Linked DNA regions of Homo sapiens: region 2 is linked to region 1. The links are contacts of gene promoters, found by promoter capture Hi-C in human tissues and cell types (Jung and others, 2019). All regions are on one chromosome and are shown on one strand. Each heading gives the region's core, a stretch centred on a gene start or on the middle of the fragment in contact. The rest is flanking DNA. Distances are from core to core; before and after follow the strand shown. Region 1 holds the start of CYS1 (cystin 1). Region 2 overlaps HPCAL1 (hippocalcin like 1).

Region 1 (6,377 bases), core at 456-2,955:
TTCCCCCATCGAGCTGCAGACTTCTTTAAGGCAAGGGCTATGCTGTGTGGCCTCATCCCTAGCACCCACAGCGGGACCGGTGCTCAAAGGATAGCTGGAAAATGACTTAAAGAGCGAGCAGTCACCATGATGAATAATATCAGCAAATCAGAGGGCACAACATTCACTCTTGCTATTTGCCTCTCATTTTCACCTCCGAGTTTCCAAAGCACTTGAAAATGAACACTAAAATTAACTGCCTCCTTGCTATGTGTGAATTCCTCCCAAATTTCTCAGCTATTTGTCCAGGCAGTGTTATATAACTGCAGGCTGATGTGGTATTAAAGGAATCTTGTTATATAATTCAGCCCTACTCACTGCAGCTCGCTTTTCCTCTTTAAAGACCGTAAGGGAGAGGAGCAGGGAACCAGGGCCAGAGGGAGAGAGCTCTGTGCACTGTCGCCTGGGGCTGTCCCTCTCCCCCACCCTCCCTGGGGCCTTTTCAGGATTCCTTGGTGCGGTAGCCACCCAGGAAGGCATCTTCCTCGGCTCCCAGCGGCTGCTAAGCAAAGCCTCCCGGGCCTCAGGGAGGAGGACGAGGCCCTTGGCATCCTCCCCGAGCCCGGGAGCGGATGTTAAAGATCTTGTTCATTCAGCTCTGCTGGAGCGAAGACGGTTGCCAAACCAGAGTGCTTGTTTTATTGTTTTTTTAGAACAGCAGGACTGTTATTACGAGTATTCAGGGAGAGAGAATAGGAAGCGCAAAAGAGATTCCGCAGCATCCTAAAAATATCAGTAACATGAGAATTGCCTGCCCAGCAAGGCAAGGATCTGGACCGGTGGGCGCGGCAGGGCGCTTCTGAGCCACCGTCTGGCTGCCGTGCCACCACCGCCGGCGCCCCGCTCCAGGGCGGCCCGGGAAGGCCAGGCGGGGCCGCGGGCCCGAGGGGAGCCGGGAGCCCGGCGCGCTCCGCCTAGGGGTGTCCTTCCTCGGCCGCTCCCAGCGCGATCGCCCCCACGCCTGGACACAGACCCGGAGACGGGGCAGAGAGGGAGGAAACCTGGGGGCCCAGGGGCGGGGAGGCCGGGGCAGCGGGGAGCACGCAAGTCGGAGGCTGGAAGGGGGCGCAGCGCGACCGGCGCCCAGGGCTGGGGCGGGGACGCGCGGCCGGTGAGTGGGGTCCCCGCCGTCCCCCGAGGCCCTGCGGCTCCCACACTCACCGCGCTCCCCGCGACCGCGGTGGGTCGGAGCCGGGCTGGGCGGCGCGGGGCGGGCTCCGGGGGGCCCCAGGCCGCCGACTCGGCCAGCAGCTCGTCCAGCAGGCGCAGCGTCTCGTCCCTGCCGTCGGGGGGCGCCACGGGGCTGGGGTCGCGGCCGGGCGCCTCCTCCGCGGCTGCCCCCGGGACCTCGGCCGCCGCCACCGGCACCCGCCGGCGGGTCCCGCCCTCCAGGGCTGCCGCTCCGGGCCCCGCGGGGAGGCTCTCGGGGCTGCGCCGCCGCCTCAGAGTCCGGCTGCTCCGGCTGCTGCCGCTGCCCATGGCGCGCCCGCCGCCTCCCGGACCGCCGAGGGGGCCCCCATGAGGGGGCGCGGCCGGGGGCGGGGACGCTAGGGGGTGCGGCCGGGGCGGGCTGCAGGGGGAGGCGCGGGGCGAGGTCCGGGAAGCGACCGCGGCCAGGGGCTAGGGTTCCCGGGCGGGGGTCGCGGCCGGAGGACGGGGGTGCGAGCCGGAGCCTGGGGAGGGGCGGGCGAGGCAGGGCTGCATAGGCGTCCCGAGGGGGCGCACACCGGCCCTAGGGAGGGGCGGGCCCGAGACCCCGGCGAGGAGCACCGGGTGCGGGCGCGGCCTCCCCTCCCGGGTCTCCCCCTACAGTCCCCCCACTCCCGCCCACGGGTCCCCTCGCTCCCCGCCGTCGGGTCAGCCCTGTCCCGGCCTTCTGGAATTGCTGAACCCTGCGGGGGGCCCGGCTGAGTTTGTTCATTTATGGAAACGCTCCCCAGACGACGCTCGCCGGGCCCGTGGGAGGCCGCGGGAGCTTGGGGGGACTTCCCAAAGCCTGAGCCCCCTAGCGATGCGCGGGGTGGGCGGGGGAAAGACCCTGAGGGCTGCGCGCGCTGCGTTCGCGAGGTCCGGCCGTCAGTGCGCCCCGACCTTTCAGTGTCCGCCAGGCCTGAGACGCCCCGGGAGGGAAGGGGCGATCCTCCGGGCACCAACAGCCCCCTCCGGCCTTCTCCTTCCCTCTGTTGCCCCAGCGGAGACTGGATGTGTGAAGGTTGAGCCTCATCAAAACCTCCAAATAGTCACTACTTTTGGGAAAGAAAAACTTTGAAAATGAAGGAGAAAGGCAAAGCAACCCCCACCTCGCCCTCCCCCCGCCACAGGAAAGAAGCAAAAGGAAATACCTAGGTGGTGGTCATAAGTCTAGCTTTTGGTCTCGGATTTTTTTTTTTTTTCCCTTAACCGCTTTTCTTTTTAAGTGAACTAACCACAACCCAGACTAGAAAACACTCCAAAGCTGCCGAATTCAAACCCAGCGAGCCTTCCTGTTGGTTGGTTCTGTGTTTTACTTAAATGTGATTACTTCCTTCCCTTGCCCACCTCCTGCAACTTTAAATTCCAGCCTTTCCAAGACAGGGCAATTCAAAAGTCCTGGGTTTAACTCACCTATCTTGACTTGACATTAACTTTTATCCTGATTGATTGGATTCCAGAATAATTGTGAAAATGGAATTTCGGCTAAACTTTCCCAACCACAGACTTGAAATTCTACTATTTTATCACTTCAGGAGTAGACATTAAAAAACATATGCCTAAGAAAATGGAATAAAAATGGGACTCAGATTCACATCCATTTATTTTTATTATTAAGAGAGAACAAGAGGCCGGGCGCGGTGGCTCACGCCCGTAATCCCAGCACTTTGGGAAGCCGAGGCAGGTGGATCACGAGGTCAAGAGACCGAGACCATCCTGGCTAACACGGTGAAACACCGTCTCTACTAAAAATACAAAAAATTAGCCGGGCGTGGTGGCGGGCGCCTGTAGTCCCAGCTACTCAGGAGACTGAGGCAGGAGAATGGCGTGAACCCGGGAGGTGGAGGTTGCAGTGAGCCGAGATCGCGCCACTGCACTCCAGCCTGGGCGACAGAGTGAGGCTCGTCTCAAAAAAAAAAAAAAAAAAAAGAACAAGAAAGTATTTATAATCTAGCTGGACGTGGTGGCTCATGCCTGTAATCCCAACACTTTCAGAGGTTGAGGCGAGCAGATCACTTTAGGTGAGGAGTTTGAGACCAGCCTGGCCAACATGGTGAAACTGTCTCTACTAAAAATACAAAAATTAGCTGGGCATGCTCACTTGAACCCAGGAGGTGGAGGTTGCAGTGAGCCGAGATCACGCCACTGCACTCCAGCCTGGGCAACAGAGCTGGACTCTGTCTCAAAAAAAAAAAAAGAAAGAAAGAAAAGAAAAGAGAGAGAGAAGAGAGGTGAGACAGAGAGGGAAAAGAAAAAGAAGAGAAAAAAAATGAGGCTGTAATCCCAGCACTTTAGGAGGCTGATGCGAGCGGATCACTTCAGGTCAGGAGTTCGAGACCAGCCTGGCCAATAGGATGAAACCCTGTCTCTACTACAAATACAAAAATTAGCCGGGCATGGTGAAGGGCACCTGTAGTCCTAGCTGCTCGGGAGCCTGAGGCAGGAGTCACTTGAACCCGTTAGGCGGAGGTTGCAGTGAGCCGAGATCGCACCACTGTACTCCAGCCTGGGCAACCAAAGAGACTCCGTCTCAAAAAAAAAAAAAAACAAAACAAACAACAACAACAACAAACAATAAAGAAAAAGCAAAAAGAAAAGAAAAAAAATTTTTTAAAGGGAAGTATTTATGATCCCCCCTGCCTTTTTTTTGAGACGGAGTCTCGCTCTGTTGCACAGGCTGTAGTGCAGTGGCCGGATCTCTGCTCACTGCAACCTCCGCCTCCCGGGTTCAAGTGATTCTTCTGCTTCAGGCTCCTGAGCAGCTGGGATTACAGGCACGCACCACCACATCCGGCTAATTTTTGTATTTTTAGTAGAGACAGGGTTTCACCATGTTCGCCAGGCTGGTTTTGAACTCCTGACCTCAGGTAATCCACCTGCCTTGGCCTCCCTAAGTGCTGGGATTACAGGCGTAAGCTACCGTGCCTGGCCTCTCCCCCCCTTTTTTTTGATGTGCCATCTTAACCATCCAGGTGTAGGATGTGGGGCCAAACACAGATGTCATTTGGGTGCGCTAAGTCTACAGATGTGTCTCGTTTGGAAGCTATTGATATAAGTTTTTAAGAAAACAAATCTCATCTTGAAACTCTTTAAACCCCAAAGAACAACAACACTTAGAGGCAAACGAGATTTTTCTTGAGTTCACTCAGTTTAATGATTTAAAGGAAAACATGTTTTGCTTCTGCCTAAATAGAAGCTAGTCATGTGACTCATGTTTAAATACATCCACAGCTCCCTGTGTTCACCTCCCAGGGCAACCAATTTTTCTGGCCACTCTTGATTCCAACACTGTTTCCCAAAACTTGTCATTAGCTCCGCTTCAGCGGGAGGAATGCCAGAGCCAGCATTCTTTCCACTTTGAGAGAACATTTTAAAATCTGCTACATTTGTAGACCTGGCTTCCATCAAATATGCTGAAAACTCAGATTGATTTTATTAGAAGCTTCCCATAATAAGCAAACAACCTAAAAGCTTTCCGCATGACTAATGTCCCTAAGATCGTCTCTAGAATTTTTGTCCGAAAGAGTTAGCAACGTCTCAGGAATATTGGAGAACTGAAATGGGGTGTAATCCTTCTTAAGAAAATATCTGGCAGTCACACCTGCAGCTGAAGGATTCTTTTATGCGGTGATAGTGCTCGTGGGTGCTGGTGATGGTGGGTGGAAGGTGAAGCCCAGTTTGGGAACTCTCTGCTTAACTCTGGGAAAATAGAACTTCCTTTCCTTAAACAAATTAAACCCTGGAAGAGGACTACAGTTGGTGATACTTTTCGGAAGGACTCGGGCGCCCGAACGATGTTTTCCTTGGTTTCAGGAGTAGCCAGGCATCTACTGCAGATGAAGCCAGTTCCTCCCACCACGACTCATGGACCAGTCATTACAATAGCCTGCCAAACCAACCCACCTTTCAAAACCCCACTCCAGGGCCCCTGCTTCAGGACTCGCAGATCTACTCTCCCTGCTCAGATATCCTGCAGTTTCCCACCAATCATGGCACTCCCAAGCCGTTACGTAAGAAAGATGTGTTGTGCAGGTGCTGGTTCTTATGAATATGCAGACAGATAATATTTGCATTTGGGTGATAAATGAGACGGCATTTGAAACATAAGCAAGCCATGTTTCTATTTTTAATGCTTAATCGGTAACTTGAGAGAGCCACAGTGCTATTAACGAATGCTGATATGTTTGGACAGCAGCAGCCCACATAATTGCTATTGTCTTTTACCAAAGTGTCCAAGCTTTTGTATTTGGTTTCATGGTTTCGGCATCAAGAGGGGAAAACAAAATATAAGGGTGAATCACCATTATTCATTAAGGACAATTAATGAGTTACAGAACTTTTTTCAATATTTACTCAGAAATAAGATACATGAGGTCCTTAGGGTTGGCAGGTCCAGGTCATGGCTGATTTGGTGCGTTCTATAACACTGTAAAAAATTCTGACAGTAAAATGACAATGACTTGTACCCCATCTAAACAAAAGGTTTAGCACTGGAATTTACGATGCATACTTTCCATGACTAGAGCAGTTCTCGTTTAGAGGCATCTCATGGCTTCTGGCTCAAAACAGCAGACCGGGTGCAGAGTTGCCTTCTCTTGGTACTTGCGACTTTGCTGGAATTAAGATAAAAGAAAAAGGGATAGAGGAGGAGTTGTAAGAAGGAGGGAAATCACAAAGGAGAGGTTTCAACGCATTTCTGAAAGATGGAAAACTGACAGTAGAGAGCTGCCAGATGACACAGGCTGAGCAATTGCAGTCTATGCCATGATGACAGACGCTGGAGAGGAAACGGGGTCAATGGACTGACAGATGAGACTCCGGGACACAGTCAGCGGGTATAAAAGGAGATGGGAGTGAGAAGTGGGCATCGGACCTAAGGAGCGATTAAGATCTTTACATGGGACAAGGGCATCATCCCCCACTGACTCCTGCTTATATTTAAGAAAAAAAAATGACCAGGTAGCTGATGTGGTTTCACTCCGCTGCCATGTGTATAAGACTCTTTTCCCATTGGATTTTTACTCCGGCTAGGAATTTAGACCGGGGGGCGGGGGGTGGTGGGTTTGTGGGGTGGGGTGGGGTGGACAGGCTTCGATTAGCTGAGCAGGCAGGAAGCTGGCCGCCTTGAACTGGAGCTACTTGAGGTT
Region 2 (6,377 bases), core at 2,224-4,723, 270 kb after region 1:
TTTGGCAGGGGAGGAAATTGAGGTGAAAGCATTCCAGGCCTAGGGAACAGCATGTGCAGAGGTGCTGGCTGGAGGAACCCCGTGTGTTTGCACTGTGCTCTGAGCTCCCTCTCATGACTCTCATTCTTTCTCGTTGAGTTTTGTTTTGTCACCCAGCCGGACTCCTGGGCAAAGAGAGGCACAATCTGTTCCCGGTTGGGCCAGCTGCCCTCCAGTAGCTACGCAGGATGCTCTGGCCGGCCTCTGAGGATTCTCTTCTTCTGTCCATCTCATGGCTGAAGACCAAGGCTATGGCCTGTGGGTGGCAGTTGGTACCTCTCCCCGCTGCCTTCCCCCGGCCCCTTTTTGGACAGGATGTTGCTCCCTGGGGCCTGGCTTTGGAGATGGCCAGTGCTGGTTTGAAGCTTCTGTCTTCTGTGTGGGATATCAGTGCCCTGCCAGCTGTTGCAAGTTTTAAACTCAATGTGCCTCTGGATGTGTGTGTAGAGTAGGGGTCCTTCCCCAGCTCCAGGCCCTGTGTGTTTCCAAGTGGGCCCGCAGCTCTGATGTGCAGTGGGTATGCACTGGCAAGCCGTGCACTGTCACAATATTAAAATAACTTCCATGGTAGTTGGTAAATAGCCCCATCACCCCTCTCCTGGGACCCTGGACCTCTAGCACACCATGGAGGCCTGCCCCGTCCCCATAAAACACACCACATTCAAATTACTTATCTCCTCTTCCCCTGCCACTCTGCTGAGAAGGCTGATCTCAATCCTCGGAGTAATGACTCTCTTCTAGGAGCAAGATGATGCTAATTCTCACTAGCATGTGAAGGACTGATAGCACCATATCTCCCTCCAGGACTCCCGGGTGGGAGGTGGGTGTTTGCATAGGCAGGCAGGTGAGCCAGCCTAGTTTGTCCACAGACTTCCATGCAAGTGATTCCTGCTGTTCCCTGGGTCTTCCTTTCTTTTGCTTCTGAACTTGGAGGTTTCTTGAAGTCTGGAGGATTTTTAGGGTGGGCATGGCTTTAGGTGGGACCTCCACTATATGGGTTTGCAAGCTGCCACTGCTTTGACTGCAGACACTGGATTGACCGTGGCCAATGCCAAGTCCAAGAGATCAGGCTGAAACCAGGCTAAATTTTAAGAGCAGAAACAAAACTCATCCTTGCGAAGGGACTTTTAGATCAGTGGCAGATGGCATAGAAAGTCTTTCTGCTGTTCTCTTGTGCTGGGCGTGGCTCAGGGCTGAGGGGAGAGAGGAGAGATGAGGGCAGAAAGAGAAGAGGGGGCAGGCCTCAGGGATGAACACATGGCCCATGGCTGTGCGCTTCCCAAGCAAGCAGTTCTGGAGTGAGGCTTGGGCCTCCATGCCTCCTGGGAGGCTGCACCTCTTGGGATATAGAGAACGCTGGCTTCAGACCCGGCAGGAGTACCGGCGGCTGTGTGGTGCATCCTGCACAGAGCTGTTGCTTTCTAACTGGGTTACTGAGCTGTCGAAGGAGCAGGGATGAAGACTCCCTTATTAAAAACTAAACAAAACACAACACGAAAAAGCCAGAACAAAACAAGCAGACGGTTGAGGACTGCAGTGAACTCATTAACCCTACAGCTTTGATCTCGAAGTCTCGGCCGCTCCTGGCTCAGAGGACCCTGGGGACGTGGTCTTTGATGCTTGCTTTCCCCATAGGCATCACTTCGACCAGCGTCTGTGTGGGGTGTGCAGCAGCCCTGAGCCAAGGATTAATTACGTAACAAGCCCAGATCCCATCCCTGCCTGAGCAGGCCATGTGCCAGCAAGGGGGGCCCCGAAGTGCCGCTAGGTGCCTCACGATTAGCATAAGGCCCGTTTATCCAGGAAGCCAGAACCAGTGCACATCTGTTAAGCGCATGCACCAAGCGGCGATTCCATAGTTGTATAGTGATTGTCTTTATGGAACTCCAGAATAGCTTCTTAGATATCACTCTTCAGGCCCTGAAATGGAGCCCTGTGCAAAGAAATGAAGAAAAGCTATCGGGGCATCTGCAGCCACTATTATACCATCTGGCAGCTCAGAAATATTTTATAATCAAATGAGTAAGACGGGCGTCCCACACTCCACAGTACTCTGCTCCCCCTTCCCTTCCTCCCAGGACTTGCTCTGTCTCTGTCTCTTTCTCTGTGTCTGTCTGTCTGTCTCTATGTGTCTGTTTCTCTCTCCCTCTTTCTGTGTGTGTCTCTCTCTGTGCCTGACTTTCTGTCTCTTTCTGCTTCTCTCTCTGTGTCTGTCTCTGTCTCTCTCTTTCTGTGTGTGTCTCTCTCTGTGCCTTTCAGTCTCTTTCTGCCTCTCTCTATGTGTCCGTTTCTCTTTCTCTCTGTGTGTCTCTCTCTCTGTGCCTTTCAGTCTCTTTCTGCCTCTCTCTATGTGTCCATCTCTCTCTCTTTTTCTGTGTGTCTCTCTCTCTGTGCCTTTCAGTCTCTTTCTGCCTCTCTCTATGTGTCTGTTTCTCTCTCTCTCTCTTTCTGTCTCTCTCTGTGCCTGTCTTGCAGTCTCTTTCTGCCTCTCTCTGTGTGTCTGTCTCTGTCTCTGTATGTGTCTGTCTCTGTTTCTGTCTGTCTTGCTCTCTCTGTTTCAATCTCTCTATCTCTGTGCCTGCCTGTCTGTCTGTCTCTTTCTTTCTGTCTCTCTGTGTGTGTCTCTCTCTCCGTCTTTGGGACAGACTAGAGGAACCTTTTTCCCAGGAGTGATAATACTGTACTCTGCGTTTTTGCCACTTGCTAGCTGGGTGACCTTGGGCGGCTTTCAAGTTCCCTTATCCTGGGTTTCTTCATTTGTAAAATGGAAGCACTACTTCACAGTGCTGTTGTGTGGGTCAAGATGAGATGAATGTGACCTACTGTGGTACTATTTATTATTTGTCCTAGAAAAACTTTTTTTTTTTTTTGAGACAGGGTCTTGCTGTCACCCAGGCTGGAGTGGTGGCACAATCTTGGCCTACTGCAACCTTGACTTCCCAGGCCCAAGCGATTCTCCCACCTCAGCCTCCCAAGAAGCTGGGACTACAGGTGTGAGCCACCACACCCAGCTAATTTTTGTATTTTTTGTAGAGACAGGGTCTTGCTATGCTGCCTGGGCTGGTCTCGAACTCTTGGGCTTAAGCGATCCTCTCACTTCAGCCTCCCAAAGTGCTAGGATTATAGGCATAAGCCACTGCACCCATCCAGAAAAACTTTTAAAAATTTTGTGTTTTAACTTTTTCTGAATATAAAAGTGATACATGCATGTTCACTGTAAAATAGAAAATATAAAGAAACTAGAAAACTATTTATGACGCCCCTCCCCCACCACAAAAGGGGCAAGGACTGCGAACTTTTGCCGTATTTTGGAAGATTTCCTAAGTCACACAAGCACACAGATGGTCTGTTGATCCAAACCAGGAAGAACAATTGTGGGAATAAGTGGAAGTGTGAGTGTGTGGGTGTGTCTGAGTGTGTGCCCTGGGGGTGTGTGTGTCTGTGTATGTGTGAGAGAGCCAGGCTGTGTGTGTGTGTGTATGCATGCAAACACTTATGTGCAATGCCTTGGGGTCCTCAGACCCCCCTTGGTCCATCAGGGGCTGGTGGCCTCCCAGTAGGACACTAGCACAGCTGCACTCATGTCCTTCTTTGAGGGGGGGTGACGGGGAGAAAGTTGGGGAGCAGCAGTGACTGCTGATGTTGTGGGGGCCATGGGGAGCCTCCTGGTATTCTGTCTCGAGGCTCTGGGGATATGGTGGGAGAAGCCCTCATGCCAGAATTGGGAGGGGATGGAATGGGACTGACCCCATCACAGCCCACGTGCCTCATTCAGGGCTTGGCTGTGGAGTCTTGGGGGAGGTGCTCCCTCATCCTCAAATGTTAACTTTGTCTGCCTGGCCCCAGTCCCCTCTGTGGCTTTTTTCCTCTTTCAATTGGGAGGCAGTTCTGTCTTAAAGAGATGTTTAACCCTCTAGGTCTCCGTGCAGGCATTTTTGTTGTGAGCCAGTCAGGCTATAAATGGTCCATTAAAAGCACTGTCCAGTTGACATAACCGGTCTACCAGGCTGAGACCCACAGACCCGGGACTGGCATTTATTTATGGATATGATGTGCAAGGAGAGTGTTTTCCAGTAGCAGGCGTTGGCATCATCAAACAGAATGAAGTGTACTGTGTTTTCACCATGATAGTACAAAAACGAGACTGTGAGAGCTTCTCACTTCTCTCCCCTTCCTCCCCTTCCTTCTCCATGTCTTTGTGCTCCTCCACTGCTCCCTCCCCAGCACAGACAGGCCCTGGCTCCCTCCCCCCACCCTCTTCCTTCTCTCTCCTTCTAACTGGGGTCAGGACCACCCTGGAGGATGTTAGATTTTAAACATTTGTTCCTCTTGTCATCCCCACCACCCCACCCACCCACCCAGATTAGTTTCTAAGGGATTTATATTTGTTTGCAGAGTGGTGCGAACTGTTTTCATCCTCAGAGGAGCAGAGTGCTCATAGATGAGTTTGACATTACTGGGATTCACTTTCAGAAGTCTCTAGAGAGCCCCGCACCGCCCCCGCCCCCCGCAGGTGCTGGAGTTCAGCCTGACACACAGGCCGGCCTCAGTGAGAGGGAGTGTCTGCCTCCCTGGCATCCGTGACCCATACGGTGGGCGCCTGTTCTTTAGAACAACTTGCTCCTTCCGTCGTTGGCTTGGTCACCCAGCCCCCGGCCCACCCTTTTCTGAGCCTGTCATCCACACCAGGCAGAGCCCTGTCTCAGAGTCTCATGGGGAGCAGGGCCTTCAGGGAAGGCCCATGTGCTGGGACTGACTTGGCTCACAGGAATTTCCTGATGGTATAAAATGTGCCCCCCAGCGCCTGATAATGGTCACTTCGCCTAAGTTCCAGCCCCAGATGTGGACCACGGTGGGGCAAAGGTGGGCGTGGGGAGGAGGAAAGAGGTTTAAAATGGCCACACCCACTACTTCTCCTTTGGAAGTGCCTCCTGCCACCCTGGGGTCCCAGGAGCTGATCTGTGGGTGTCTGTCCTCAGCACCCACCCTGCTTTTCCTTCAGGCCCCGCTCTGGCTGTCTGGGCCTTTCTGGTGCTGTTCCTCACAGGTTTAAACACTCCAGCAGCAGCCTTTCCCATGGCACTGTGTCTGCGGGGCGGGGTTGGGCATTTTCTGAGGCTTCCTGTGTTTCACGGGGATCCAGTATGAAGCCTGGCACGGAGTATGGGCCAAATCGGTTTAATGTTTAGCTCCCCAAACCCTTCACTTCTGTGTCCTCATTAATTCAGACAAGGTTGGGTTTAGCAAACTGTGTCTCAAACATAAGAAAATGCAGCGTGGGAATGGGGGAGGGGAGGAGTGCTGTAGAAGGACCATTTCAGAAGCCCTGGTTTACAGGAGAAAGATTGGTATCTTCATAAGTCACTCTTAAGCTTGCATTTGTTCATGCTTTAACACAGTGATTAGATACCTACTGTAAGCCTAGCATGGTGGGGATATAAAAGCAAGATCAAGTTCAAGGGGGCAGGGATTTAGGGTCAGTGAGACGGACCTCTTAATCACTTATTTTGTACACATCAGAGCAGTGACATTGTGTTTCTTTAAAAATACTAGGGGCCAGCCCGGGCACAGTGGCTCATGCCTGTAATCCCAGCACTTTGGGAGGCCAAGGTGGGCAGTTCACCTAAGATCAGGAGTTCAAGACCAGCCTGCCAACATGGTGAAACCTCATCTCTACTAAAAATACAAAAATTAGCTGGGCATGGTGGTACACACCTGTAATCCCAGCTACTCGGGAGGCTGAGGCAGGAGAATCACTTGAACTCAAGAGGCGGAGGTTGCAGTGAGCCGAGATCGCTCCACTGCACTCCAGCCTGCACGACAGAGCAAGACTCCATCTCAAAAAACAAAAAACAACAACAGAAAAAACTCTGGGCCAGCTGTGGTGGTTCACACCTGTAATCCCAGTGCTTTGGGAGACCAAGGTGGGGGGATCGCTTGAGCCCAGGAGTATTTGCCCAGCCTGGGTAGCATAGCAAGATCCTGTCTCTACAAAAAAAAAAAAATATATATATATATAAATTAGCCAGGCAGGGTGATGTGCATCTACAGTCCCAGCTACTTGGGAGGCTGAGGTGGGAAGATCACTTGAGCCCAGGAGTCTGAGGCTGCAATGGGCTCTGATCCCACCACTGCACTCCAGCCTGAGCGACAGAGTGAGACTCTGTCTCAAGAAACAAAACAAAACTCTGGATTCTGGCCTTCTCCTGGGAAATCCAGATTTGTCTGGTATGATGTTCGTTGAACCCATTTAGTCCAGCAGCCTGGCTTTCCAAAAGTATGTCTGCCTCTCACGGTGCCCAGTAGCTTTAACCAAAGAGCTCAGGAAAGGGCCTGTC

What was found. The method cuts DNA at HindIII sites, captures the fragments that hold promoters and counts their contacts. A contact is called where the count stands out against the background at its distance.
Region 2: a contact is called between a fragment that was not itself captured here and the fragment with the promoter of CYS1 in region 1, in 2 of the 25 tissues and cell types used here (adrenal gland and pancreas).

Annotation. Positions count from the first base shown.
Region 1 is chr2:10,078,706-10,085,082 of GRCh38, forward strand. CYS1 (cystin 1) reads right to left here and starts at 1,706. Exons shown (of 3, transcript NM_001037160.3): 1 at 1,201-1,706. The coding sequence starts at 1,518. RefSeq lists silencers at 841-1,180, 1,251-1,490, 1,551-1,610, 1,781-2,020 and an enhancer at 4,265-4,324. The HindIII fragment of the contact is 24,294 bases long and covers 1-5,084 here.
Region 2 is chr2:10,342,570-10,348,946 of GRCh38, forward strand. The region is part of intron 1 of HPCAL1 (hippocalcin like 1); the gene reads left to right. Among named protein-coding and RNA genes, the nearest start is that of HPCAL1, 43 kb to the left of the region's middle. RefSeq lists an enhancer at 1,576-2,076. The HindIII fragment of the contact is 6,918 bases long and covers 15-6,377 here.